Linked DNA regions of Homo sapiens: region 2 is linked to region 1. Evidence: promoter capture Hi-C in 16 types of primary human blood cells and fetal thymus (Javierre and others, 2016). All regions are on one chromosome and are shown on one strand. Each heading gives the region's core, a stretch centred on a gene start or on the middle of the fragment in contact. The rest is flanking DNA. Distances are from core to core; before and after follow the strand shown.

Region 1 (5,763 bases), core at 2,675-5,174:
GGCTCAGGTAAGCCTCTCCTTTTCCCCACACTGCTATGAATGCTTGGCTTAGGGAGGGCTCTGGGGCTGGCGGGGAGTGACCAAAGGAGGAGGGAAAGGCAAGGGTAGCCATTGTTTGGGTTGGGGTGGTCGGCCCTGGAGGGGGTTTGTTTGCTTATTCCCCTCTGTGCTTCACCCCTACCCAGCTTCCCGCCAGAAAGCCCTGAGCCTAGTAAGCTGTTTCGCGGGGGGCGTCTTTTTGGCCACTTGTCTCCTGGACCTGCTGCCTGACTACCTGGCTGCCATAGATGAGGCCCTGGCAGCCTTGCACGTGACGGTGAGCACTGGCCTGGGCATGTGACTTGCGGGAGGGGAATCACACACCTCTGGGAGTGTTGGTTTGTGGAGATTGATTCATGTGCCACTCCATGACTGTGTGGAAGACTTTTGGCATGTGGTATGAATTGTGATTTTTGGTTATGGGGCATAATTCTTTCTATGTGTTCCCTCCCCCTTCCCCATTCCCTGTGTGACCCCTACATTCCCGTTGAGACAGTAAGACACTTTTTCTCAGGTGTGTGACTTGCTCTATGGGTTCTCAGTTCTAGCTACCAGCAAGTGCTCCAAGAATCATCTTCACTCTCTCACCACTTTCCTAAAGGGCTGGAGATAGAGGTCTCTGTAGGCCTGAGAAGGATAGGAAGCGATTCCCTGGGTCTTGGTGTTGCTAACCTTTTTAGGCTTTGGCCCAAGGAAGTGGGCTGTGAGGAATGATCAAGTCCACGGCATAGGACTTGGTTTATTATAGGAAAAACTGAGGCCGTTGGATAGTGGGGCAGGAAAGTCATCCTGGGCTCTTTCCTTTTTTCCTCTAAAACTGAGGAAGTAACACTGGATGTATCCCTTTGTGTGTCTGTGACTGAGTGACCTGTGTTTCCGTGTGACTGCGTATAAGCCTGAATGTCCTGTGATATGTGGCTCTATGTATGAGTATTTGGGGAGATGGGCAATGTGTGACCTTTTCATGTATGTCTACATCAGTGACTCTCAACTAGGAGTGTGGCTTTGCCCCTCAGGAAACATTTGGTAATGTCTGGGGATATTTTTAGTTGTCACAATGGGGAGGGGGATGGAGGGAACATTGTGCCTGCTATTGGCATCTGGTAAGTAGAGATCAGAAATGCTGTTAAACAATCTACAGTGCACAAGACAGCTCCCATGACAAAGAATTATCTGGCCCAAAATGTTTTTGTTTGTTTGTTTTTGTTTTGTTTTGTTTTTGAGAAAGAGTCTTGCTCTGTTGCCCAGGCTGGAGTGCAGTGGCACAATCTCGACTCACTGCAATCTCTGGCTCCTGGGTTCAAGTGATTCTCCTGGCTCAGACTCCTGAGTAGCTGGGATTACAGGCATCCACCACCACACCCTGCCAATTTTTGTATTTTTAGTAGAGACAGGGTTTCACCATGTTGGCCAGGCTGGTCTCAAACTCCTGACCTCAAGTGATCTTCCCACTTTGGTCTTCCAAAGTGCTGGGATTATAGGCATGAGCCACTGCCCCTGGCCCCAAAATGTTAATAGTTCCAAAGCTGAGAAACTTTGGTCTACACGTAACACTGTGAGTGACACCATAATCTGTGTGTACGTATCATTCTGTGTCAGTGTTACCAATTCACTCTATCTTTGTGTGACTGAGAGTAGCCCTGTGTCTGTGTCAGACCCTAGGTCTGTGTAACTGGGCTTTCACCAGATTTTGCATCTCACTCTTCCTTCCCTGAACATTTTGCTGCTGCTTCTGCCCACAGCTCCAGTTCCCACTGCAAGAGTTCATCCTGGCCATGGGCTTCTTCCTGGTCCTGGTGATGGAGCAGATCACACTGGCTTACAAGGAGCAGTCAGGGCCGTCACCTCTGGAGGAAACAAGGGCTCTGCTGGGAACAGTGAATGGTGGGCCGCAGCATTGGCATGATGGGCCAGGGGTCCCACAGGCGAGTGGAGCCCCAGCAACCCCCTCAGCCTTGCGTGCCTGTGTACTGGTGTTCTCCCTGGCCCTCCACTCCGTGTTCGAGGGGCTGGCGGTAGGGCTGCAGCGAGACCGGGCTCGGGCCATGGAGCTGTGCCTGGCTTTGCTGCTCCACAAGGGCATCCTGGCTGTCAGCCTGTCCCTGCGGCTGTTGCAGAGCCACCTTAGGGCACAGGTGGTGGCTGGCTGTGGGATCCTCTTCTCATGCATGACACCTCTAGGCATCGGGCTGGGTGCAGCTCTGGCAGAGTCGGCAGGACCTCTGCACCAGCTGGCCCAGTCTGTGCTAGAGGGCATGGCAGCTGGCACCTTTCTCTATATCACCTTTCTGGAAATCCTGCCCCAGGAGCTGGCCAGTTCTGAGCAAAGGATCCTCAAGGTCATTCTGCTCCTAGCAGGCTTTGCCCTGCTCACTGGCCTGCTCTTCATCCAAATCTAGGGGGCTTCAAGAGAGGGGCAGGGGAGATTGATGATCAGGTGCCCCTGTTCTCCCTTCCCTCCCCCAGTTGTGGGGAATAGGAAGGAAAGGGGAAGGGAAATACTGAGGACCAAAAAGTTCTCTGGGAGCTAAAGATAGAGCCTTTGGGGCTATCTGACTAATGAGAGGGAAGTGGGCAGACAAGAGGCTGGCCCCAGTCCCAAGGAACAAGAGATGGTCAAGTCGCTAGAGACATATCAGGGGACATTAGGATTGGGGAAGACACTTGACTGCTAGAATCAGAGGTTGGACACTATACATAAGGACAGGCTCACATGGGAGGCTGGAGGTGGGTACCCAGCTGCTGTGGAACGGGTATGGACAGGTCATAAACCTAGAGTCAGTGTCCTGTTGGTCCTAGCCCATTTCAGCACCCTGCCACTTGGAGTGGACCCCTCCTACTCTTCTTAGCGCCTACCCTCATACCTATCTCCCTCCTCCCATCTCCTAGGGGACTGGCGCCAAATGGTCTCTCCCTGCCAATTTTGGTATCTTCTCTGGCCTCTCCAGTCCTGCTTACTCCTCTATTTTTAAAGTGCCAAACAAATCCCCTTCCTCTTTCTCAAAGCACAGTAATGTGGCACTGAGCCCTACCCAGCACCTCAGTGAAGGGGGCCTGCTTGCTCTTTATTTTGGTCCCGGATCCTGGGGTGGGGCAGAAATATTTTCTGGGCTGGGGTAGGAGGAAGGTTGTTGCAGCCATCTACTGCTGCTGTACCCTAGGAATATGGGGACATGGACATGGTGTCCCATGCCCAGATGATAAACACTGAGCTGCCAAAACATTTTTTTAAATACACCCGAGGAGCCCAAGGGGGAAGGGCAATGCCTACCCCCAGCGTTATTTTTGGGGAGGGAGGGCTGTGCATAGGGACATATTCTTTAGAATCTATTTTATTAACTGACCTGTTTTGGGACCTGTTACCCAAATAAAAGATGTTTCTAGACATCTGTACAGTATCTGATTCGTTTGTTTTGGGAAAGGGGTGGGCATGTGGCCAGCCTGAGAGGGCCTGAGTCCCAGATGTTTACAGCTGTTTTAAGATTCTTGGTCTCACTGTTTTCACTCAGGACCCGATAGTCCCCTTCCCTGAAGATGACCTAATTTTTCCTCCTTTGTGTCTTGGTACTTCTTTCCCGGTCTCCACCCCTCGGCTTCCCTTCTCTTCCCTCCCCTCCCTCTTCCTTTCTTCTCTCTTCAATCCCTCTCTCCTTTCCGTTCGTAGTCTCAGGGCTAATTTAGAACTACTCTTCCCAGCTTGCACCTCTCAGGGAGTAGCCGAGAGGGTGGAGCCAAGTCCCCAGTTTCCGGAGTCAGCAGGGCTGCTGGGAAGTGGAGTCCGTTTCCTCCTAGTGCTGCGTGACTGGGGATGTGAAGGAGTCTCGTAAACAAACTACAATTCCCGGCGGCCCCCGCGCGCAACAGGTCAGGGCTAGGCTGGGGCCGGGTTCGCGGTGCTCGCTGAGGCGGCGGTGGCTACGGCTGGAGGAGCCGGGCCGAGGCCGCGGCGGAGGCCGCGGCTGGTACTGGGAGGGTGGCAGGGAGGGACGGGGAAGGAAGATGGCGACGTCGGGGGCGAACGGGCCTGGTTCGGCCACGGCCTCGGCTTCCAATCCGCGCAAATTTAGTGAGAAGATTGCGCTGCAGAAGCAGCGTCAGGCCGAGGAGACGGCGGCCTTCGAGGAGGTGATGATGGACATCGGCTCCACCCGGGTGAGGGGCCGCGCCGGGGAGCCGGAGCAGAGCTGAGCAGTTACGGAGCGGAGACCGGAGAGGCGGGGCGGGGGCGGGCGCCGCAGCGAAGGAGGCGGAACAGAGCAGGGGACGCGGGCGCCGCCGTTTGGGAGGCGCAGGTTGAGGGCCGAGGGGCAGGAAGAAGGATTTTGCCGGGGGAGACCGAAACACCGGAGAGGTTCGGGGTGTAGAGGCGACTGGGGGCCGAGTACGTGAGGTGGGAGTGGGCGGAGAGGGGAGATGAAGTCCGGCGGAGGTAGGAGGTGAGTGGTCCTTGTGCATCCCTGACGGAGTCCCCTCGAGGACGCTACTGAAGCATGCCTGGTATTGGGGTATGGCCTGGGAGGAGGGCTGCTTGTCTGTAACCTGGCTCCTCTGAGTTTGTGATCTCCTCCAAACTGGTCCCTCTGCCTTCTGCGCTTTGGTGCCCCCGGGAAAGGGCCCCTTGAGTGGTTTGAACGAGCGGTGCTGTGTATAGTGGGGCAGGAAGTCCCCTCCTGCGTCCCGTCCTTTTGCTTCCTTTTTCAAATACTTCTTGTGGTTTCCTGACGTGAATGAAGGTGAGGTCCATTGCTTGGTGTTTTGTCCTGGCCTCCTTGGAGGAGAGGTAGGGTTTTGAATCCGACAACTGGGTAACCGTCCGACCATAAGTTGTGTGGAACTCTATGGTTTGCTGAGCTTTCTAGGGAGTTGGCTGCTTTGTGGGTTAGTGTGTAGGGTGCCTTGGAGGGTCTTCTATGTGTTGAGAATATTCATTCCTAGGAGTTCTTGAAAGAACTTTCAGGCCTCTGCCAGGCTGCCTCTGAAGCCCCCCTGGCTTGGTTTCTTGCTTTCCAAGGCTGGAGGTCAGAGGGACCAAGGGGTAGGAGTCCGCCTAGGTGGTATGCAGTCTTAATTTAGGGACACATTCTTCTAAAACAACAGTAGGTAAGGATATTGCAATGATTCCTCATGGCAGAGAGCTAGAAGGAATTTAAGGATTGATGGTGGAACATTACTACAACATCTCTAGCCTTTTTCTGCTGGTCTGACTGTGGTTGCATTTATGACTGTGACTCTGGTTGTATTTTTGTGTGTATCCCCCTTGACTCTGTTACTTTTTTTTTTTTCTCGTCCTTTCCCCTTTGAGTCTCTAGGGACTATGTGCCCTAGTTTGTGGGAGTCAGAAGTTAGGTGGGGAGGCAAATCTGGGAGGGTGTCTGTGCACGCATGTGCACACTTAAATGCATGTGTGTGCATAACCCACTGTAACCATTGTGAGGATTATTATCTAACTGTAGACTGCTCCCCTTTAGGAGCTTTTTCATCATGTTGGGGACAGAGACAGGAAGATGGGAGGCTGATCTTGATAGCGTGAGGCCCTGCCCTCAGGACTGTGATTCTAGCAGAGGCATGGTGGGATCTTAGGGCTCGTATGTGCAAAGAAAGGCTGTGCGAAACTCAAAAGCTGGGGCTTCTCTTTACGGTGCCTCGATCTCTTAAAAGGCCCCTTCTACCCACCTTGCTCCTATTGGTTAATTTCTCAGCTACACAGAAAAGTCTAGTGGGCAT
Region 2 (6,174 bases), core at 3,118-5,617, 590 kb after region 1:
AGGCCAAGAGTTCCTGGCAGTGAGTAGCCAAGGCTCTTGGTGGGCACATACCTGACCTGCTCAAAGAGTAGCACAGAAGCCAGTATACCTGGAGTACAGTGACTGAAATGGGGAGTGGTGGGGAATATGAGCCTGTAGGTATCAGGAAGCAGATAACAGCAGCTTATAGACCATGGGGAGGACTTTAGACTTTATTCTAAATGTGCTAAGGAGACACTGGGGGGTTTTGACCAGGGGAGCGAAATGATTCTATTTATGCTTTGAAGGATTACTTTGGCTGCTTTCGTGGAGAACAGATTATAGAGCACAGGCAAGCATGGAAGCTAAGAGATCAGCTAAGAAGAGATTCCCCAGGGCAATCCTGTCTAAGAGAAATATAATATGTATAACTTAAACTTTACTAGAAACCATATTTAAAAAAGTAAAAATAAAGGGGAATTAATTTTAATAACATTTGGTTAACCTAATAGATCTAAAATATTATTACTTCAGCTATATAAAATTATTGTTGAGATAGTTTACATTCTTTTCTTTCATTTTAAGACTTTGAAATCCAAAGATTCACATATGACCATGTTTCAAGTGCTCAGTAGTCATGTATAGATCATGGCAACCATACTGGACCCCGAAGCCCTAGATCGTTTCAGAGATGGAATGAGGCTGGACTAGGGTGGTGGTAATGGTGGTGACAAGGGGTGGTCAGATTATCAATACATTTTGAAGGTGGAAATTGAAAAATCAAGGATTACTCCAAAAGTTTTCCCCTAAGACACTGGTCTGGATGCTAGGGATACAGAGATGAAAGAAGAAGTCCTTGGCTTAAATGTTCATCTCTGATTGCGGAAGGCCTGAATCGGGAGGAATCCCTATGCCATGTCATATATGTTTTGGCAGAAGTAAGTATACGATGTTGTGGGAGAATAGAGAGTGACCCAGCTTTGGGGGTGCACTGGGGCCAGTTAGGCTACCTGAAAGAGTGGACACATGGTCATAAAATTTGGGGCAGAACTTTGAAAGGGGGGAAATGATATAGAATTTGCATGTCTGTGGGCATGGGATAGTGAGAAACACTCTCTTTAGTTTTCTTAAAGAAGGAAAGGGATGGAAAGGAGTTGGGAAGAACAAGGAGCAAGTGACCAGGGAGAAGAGTATTATGCCCTGTCCAACATAGGGTCAGGGGAGACTTCCCTGACTAGACTCTCCACACTAGTCCAGGCCAGGTTCTTTGTTTAACAGTACCGTAGGACCATGCTGCTCTCCTTTGGTGCTCTTGTCTTCTTTTGTGATTCTGGATCCATGGCCATGATTATTTGTTTAATATTCATCTTCTCTGATGGACTAGGTTGTTAAAGAGCAGGTGCTGAATCACTGTGAATCACTAGCACAAGCACAGTGCCTGGAAAGAGGTGGTTGTTTGCTATGAGTTGAATATTTGTGTTCCTGTTGAGATTCATGTTGAAACTTAATCCCCAATGTGAGTATTAAGAGGTTGGGGTTTAGGAGGTGATTAGGCCATGATGCCTCCACCCTTTTGAATGGGTTGATGCATTATGAAAGGGCTTGAGGAGGCAAGTTTTCCCCTTTTAAACCTTCCACCATGTGAGGACACAGTGCTCCTCCTCTCTGGAGGAAGCAGCAACAAGGCGCCATTTTGGAAGCAGAGAGCAGCCCTCACCAGGCACCTGAACCTGCCAGCACCTTGATCTTGGACTTCTCAGCCTCCAGAACTGTGGGAAATAAATTTGTGTTGTTTATAAATTATCCATTCTATATTTTGTTATAGTAGCATGAGGACACTAGGACAATGTTTGATAAACATTTCTTAAATGAATAAATGTGTGGAAATTGATAAGTCTGTTGGCTTGACTCTCTATAACTGGCCCCAGGGAAAATATGAAGAAGCATGGCCTCAGGGACAGCTGTTGGGCCCTGGTGAAAAGTGCAATTCAATCTGATCAGCGGAAGTCACTGGAAACCTCCCTGTCCTCCAACCCCTGACTCCTCCAACCAACCACTAAAGTTAGGTCTGGCACTGATGGGGAGCATGAAATCAGAAGTCAGCCCCAGTCCCTGTTTAGTGGGAACATCAAGATACACACAGAAGAGGCAGCAGGGGCAGAGCCTTGGGCTCTGGTAGACCCTCCCGTGGCTGCTCCCTCTGTAGCGGGATATTTTAAAAAATAAGAGAGACCAATGGGGTTGAGGAGGATATTTATTAATTATTTAGGTGAACCGGTCCAGTTGGATTAACATTCAAAGGACTGAGCCCTGAACTATGAAATCAGCAGAAGTCACTGGAAAGTCATTTCCACCTTCAAAATGTATTGATAATCTGACCACCCCTTGTCACCACCATTATCACCACCCTAGTCCAGCCCCATTCCATTTCTGAAATGATCTAGGGCTTCAGGGTCCAATATGGTTGCCACGATCTATACATGACTACTGAGGACTTGAAACATGGTCATATGTGTGAGATGTACTAGAACTGTAATACACTGGATTTCAATTAATTGAGACATGCGTTACATCATTTCTTACTTTTCAAGGAAAAACACGTTTTATGACTTGAGTTTATTTGTCTAGTGACCTTGCAGCTGCATAGCTAGAGAAACAGGTCTTCATAATGCCTGGGAAAGGAGGAAAGATAAGGCTCACTAGCTACAGAAAAACAGGCAGTTAATTTTTAAAGGACTCCAGCTCTTTCTCCTTCTCAGGGGGAATTGGGTTTTCTTACATACAACTGAGTTTCTGCTTACACATTCTTTAATTTCTTTTAATTCCTGTTCCACCTCTGGATCTTCTTCAGCAGCAGGGGCAGGCCAGGTGGCAAAATTGAAGAATTTTAGAAAGGTTAGATACCCTGCTGGAGGTCAGGCAAGACAGATGTGAGGAAAAGTGGGAAAGGGGGCTTTTTACTGCAGGAGAGTGGGTTTGACTTTCGGCTTATTTACTGTGAAGCCATGTGGAGACAGTGTATGGGAAGCTGGGATTCAGGACAAGTGACAAATGATGAGTCCTGGGCACATGGTCTTGGGGTGAAGCTTTGCTGACCACCCCCATCAAAGGAAACAATTGCAGTTGTGTGGAAAGTGTGCGAGAAAGTAGAAGCCTGTAGATGGGGTTGAGGGGAGAGCCTGAAGATGGGGGTGAAGTGGGATTGGCAGAAAAGGAAGGAATGTGTGACCCAGGGAAGGGAGTCCTGGAATGGCCCAAGCCTGGAAGGCTTCTATCACCAAATGTGAATGAGAATGTGAGAGCATTTGGGGAAAGCCTTCCCTCACTGCATGACCTTGGCCAAATCACTTTGCCTCTCTGGGTCTGTGTTTTCTTTATTTTTGAAGAATTCAAAGGAATTTTAAACATCTATTTTGGAAAGTTTTAGACTAGGTGAATACTCAGGTGTCACCCAGTGTTAGTGCTCTGAGAGACCTCAGTTGGATAGAGGGGAACTTGGTGCAGGGTCTAGAAGGAGAACATCACTTAGTGAGAGGGTAGGAAGGAGGATGTCCCTTGGTGCTAAAGAGTAGCAGTCGAGAGTGTGAGGCTAGAAGTTATGCTTCTGTATTCAAATCCTAGCATTGCCACTTACTAACTGTGAGACCTTGAACAAGTTACTTAGAATCTTTAAACCTCAATTTCCCCATCAGTAGCATGGGGATAACCACAGCACCCCTCTCCCAGAGTTGGTGAGAGGATTAGGTCATCTCCTTTTTTTCCTTTTTTTATTTTTTTATTTTTTGAGATGGAGTCTTGCTCTGTCTCCCAGGCTGGAGTGCAGTGGCGCGATCTTGGCTCACTGCAAGCTCCGCCTCCCGGATTCACGCCATTCTCCTGTCTCAGCCTCCCGAGTAGATGGGTTTACAGGTGCCCGCCACCACACCAGGCTAATTTTTTTGTATTTTTAGTAGAGACGGGGTTTCACCGCGTTAGCCAGGATGGTCTCGATCTCCTGACCTCGTGATCTGCCTGCCTCGGCCTCCCAAAGTGCTGGGATTACAAGCGTAAGCCATGCGACTGGCCAAGATTAGGTCATCTCATAGCACATGGAAAGCACTTGGCACAGTATCTGATGCAGAGTAAGCACTCAACAAACATTAGCAATAACAGTAAGATAATAATTTAGACAGGAGGTAACGATTGTAGCTGACCCACCCTCTGCCACAGCACAATAGGTATAGATTATTTTAAACCAAAGCAGACTGAGGTTATATTTAGGGGTGGCTTGGATAGTTAAAGTTGACCAGTGTAAGATAAGGAACCAAGGGAAGTTATGCAATATCTTCCTCTAAAGGCCTTTGAACTAGACCAAGCTGTTCTGCAAACTAGGCCACTCCCTTGATGCACTTACCTTGATTTGGGACCACTTCTGATATATATAGTAGTATTAGAATCTGTTAAAAAAAAAAACAACAAAAAAACCAACAACTAACCGATGAGAGCAAAAGTCCAGCACATTTGCTATTGTGAAAACATTCACCAGCTGTAATTTTGTTTCCAAATAGCCCACTGAACCACAAATTGAACTTAAATCATGGCTAGAAAAATTTTAAGGGCTGCTAACCTTGGTCAAAATCCATCAGTCAGCGGCACCTAAGGACAATGACAAGGGCCCTTGACTTGGAATCAAATGAGCTTGGTTAGACTCCCAGCTCAACTGCTTGGCTCTGTGAGTTTGGGCGAATGGCTTCCCTTCTCTGAGCCTCAGTTTTTTCATGTATATAGTGTGCTGTTTGCACAAGTGATCTCCAGTCCCTTCATGAATACACAGAGACTAGACCCTGTGACTGTGGCTGGTGTCGTGGAACAAGCAAATGAACACAAGCACTGTTAGATCCACAGAGCCCAGGGATTGGCCCTGTTGCTTCTGGAGGCCCTGTCTCACTGTCACCATCTGTCCACCCCCAGAGGCCCTATTCTCCAGCCACTCTAGAACAGTCTCTAGTTTCTCCACGGCTTTGAAACTTCTTGGGTTTTGCTCCTGCTGTCCTCTTGTTCTCTTTGTCTGAAGTGCCTTTTCATCCCTTCATTCACAAACATTTTTTTGTGTCTGCTCTGTTGCAGACACTAGGCTACCTGGGCCCTTCTCTGGCTCTAGAACACCTGCTTATACACCATGGCCTGACTCAACCGTCACATCCTCCAGGGAGCTCACCTGTTCATATCTTCCTCATGTATTTCCATCAAGAGTAGACTTTAGGCCCCTTCCAATTTGGGGCTGACCTCCCTCTTCTGCTCACTGGCTGCTGCTGGAATGATGAGCCTGACAAAGCTGTCTGGGCAAAGGCATTACTGAGTGATAAAGGACACCAATAACACTCTTTTGGGTGCTATATGTGCAATACTTTGCCCTCAGGAGGATATTTCAGGCAGGCTTCCAGTACACCACAAGCCAAGCCATGCCAGCCTGTGCATCAGGCTCTTGGAGCTCAGGAGAAGGATCTGGGCTCAACAAAATGACTATCAGAAGCCCCTGATGTGAGAATGGCTAGGTCTCATCATTTTGACTTGGCCAACACAAGAAGCCTTTCAAGTTTTAAGATAAAGCAAACTAAAAATCTGGAGGGCAAGAGCCCTTACTTCCTATGTTTCTCTGATTTCTTTTATTGCCTAACACAGCACTGGGCACATGGAAGTGCAATTCTTGCCCTCTGAAAACTCAGCTTGGGCATTAGTCCAAGCAAGCTTTCCTTCTCTCTCCTTCCCTCTACCCCTGCCCCCCGGCTCCCCTCTACCCCCTCCCCCACACCACAGCCAATAAGACGGCAAAAAGTGCCTTCTGTACTCTCTGGGCATCTTGTGCTTATCATCTGCCTTTGCTTGTCTTTTGCCCACAACATTGTATTATAGAGAAAATATCTGGTAATTGTGCCCCCACTGGACTGAGGGCTCTGTGAAGGCAGGGAATCTAGCACACTATTTGACATAAGACCAGGCTCATCAGCCTCCTAACTGGTCCTCATGCTTCTACTCTGGGGTTCTCCAGGCTACCCTCCACACAGCTGCCGAATATTCTCCTCCAGATACATCATATCACATCACCTGCCTGATTAAAACCCTCCAAAGGCTCTCCAATGTGTTTGGGGTGAAATCTTCGTTGAGATGGCTTCTTGTCATCCAGGCCTCATTTCCAGTGTTGCTTCCTTGCCTGGCTGCCGGCCCACAAAGCAGTCC

What was found. The method cuts DNA at HindIII sites, captures the fragments that hold promoters and counts their contacts. A CHiCAGO score of 5 or more calls a contact.
Region 2: a contact is called between a fragment that was not itself captured here and the fragment with the promoter of CRTC2 in region 1, in 1 of 17 cell types (neutrophils). The highest score is 5.3, in neutrophils.

Annotation. Positions count from the first base shown.
Region 1 is chr1:153,956,773-153,962,535 of GRCh38, reverse strand. CRTC2 (CREB regulated transcription coactivator 2) reads left to right here and starts at 3,924. Exons shown (of 14, transcript NM_181715.3): 1 at 3,924-4,191. The coding sequence starts at 4,039. SLC39A1 (solute carrier family 39 member 1) reads left to right here. Exons shown (of 4, transcript NM_001271958.2): 2 at 1-7; 3 at 186-316; 4 at 1,782-3,426. The coding sequence ends at 2,438. It overlaps MIR6737 (microRNA 6737), which reads left to right and starts at 116; the gene lies at 116-185. RefSeq lists enhancers at 3,695-3,894, 4,455-4,504, 4,515-4,734, 4,795-4,844 and a silencer at 4,145-4,294. The HindIII fragment of the contact is 11,751 bases long and covers 1-5,763 here.
Region 2 is chr1:153,366,763-153,372,936 of GRCh38, reverse strand. No RefSeq gene overlaps it. Among named protein-coding and RNA genes, the nearest start is that of S100A12, 5.8 kb to the left of the region's middle. The HindIII fragment of the contact is 2,641 bases long and covers 3,047-5,687 here.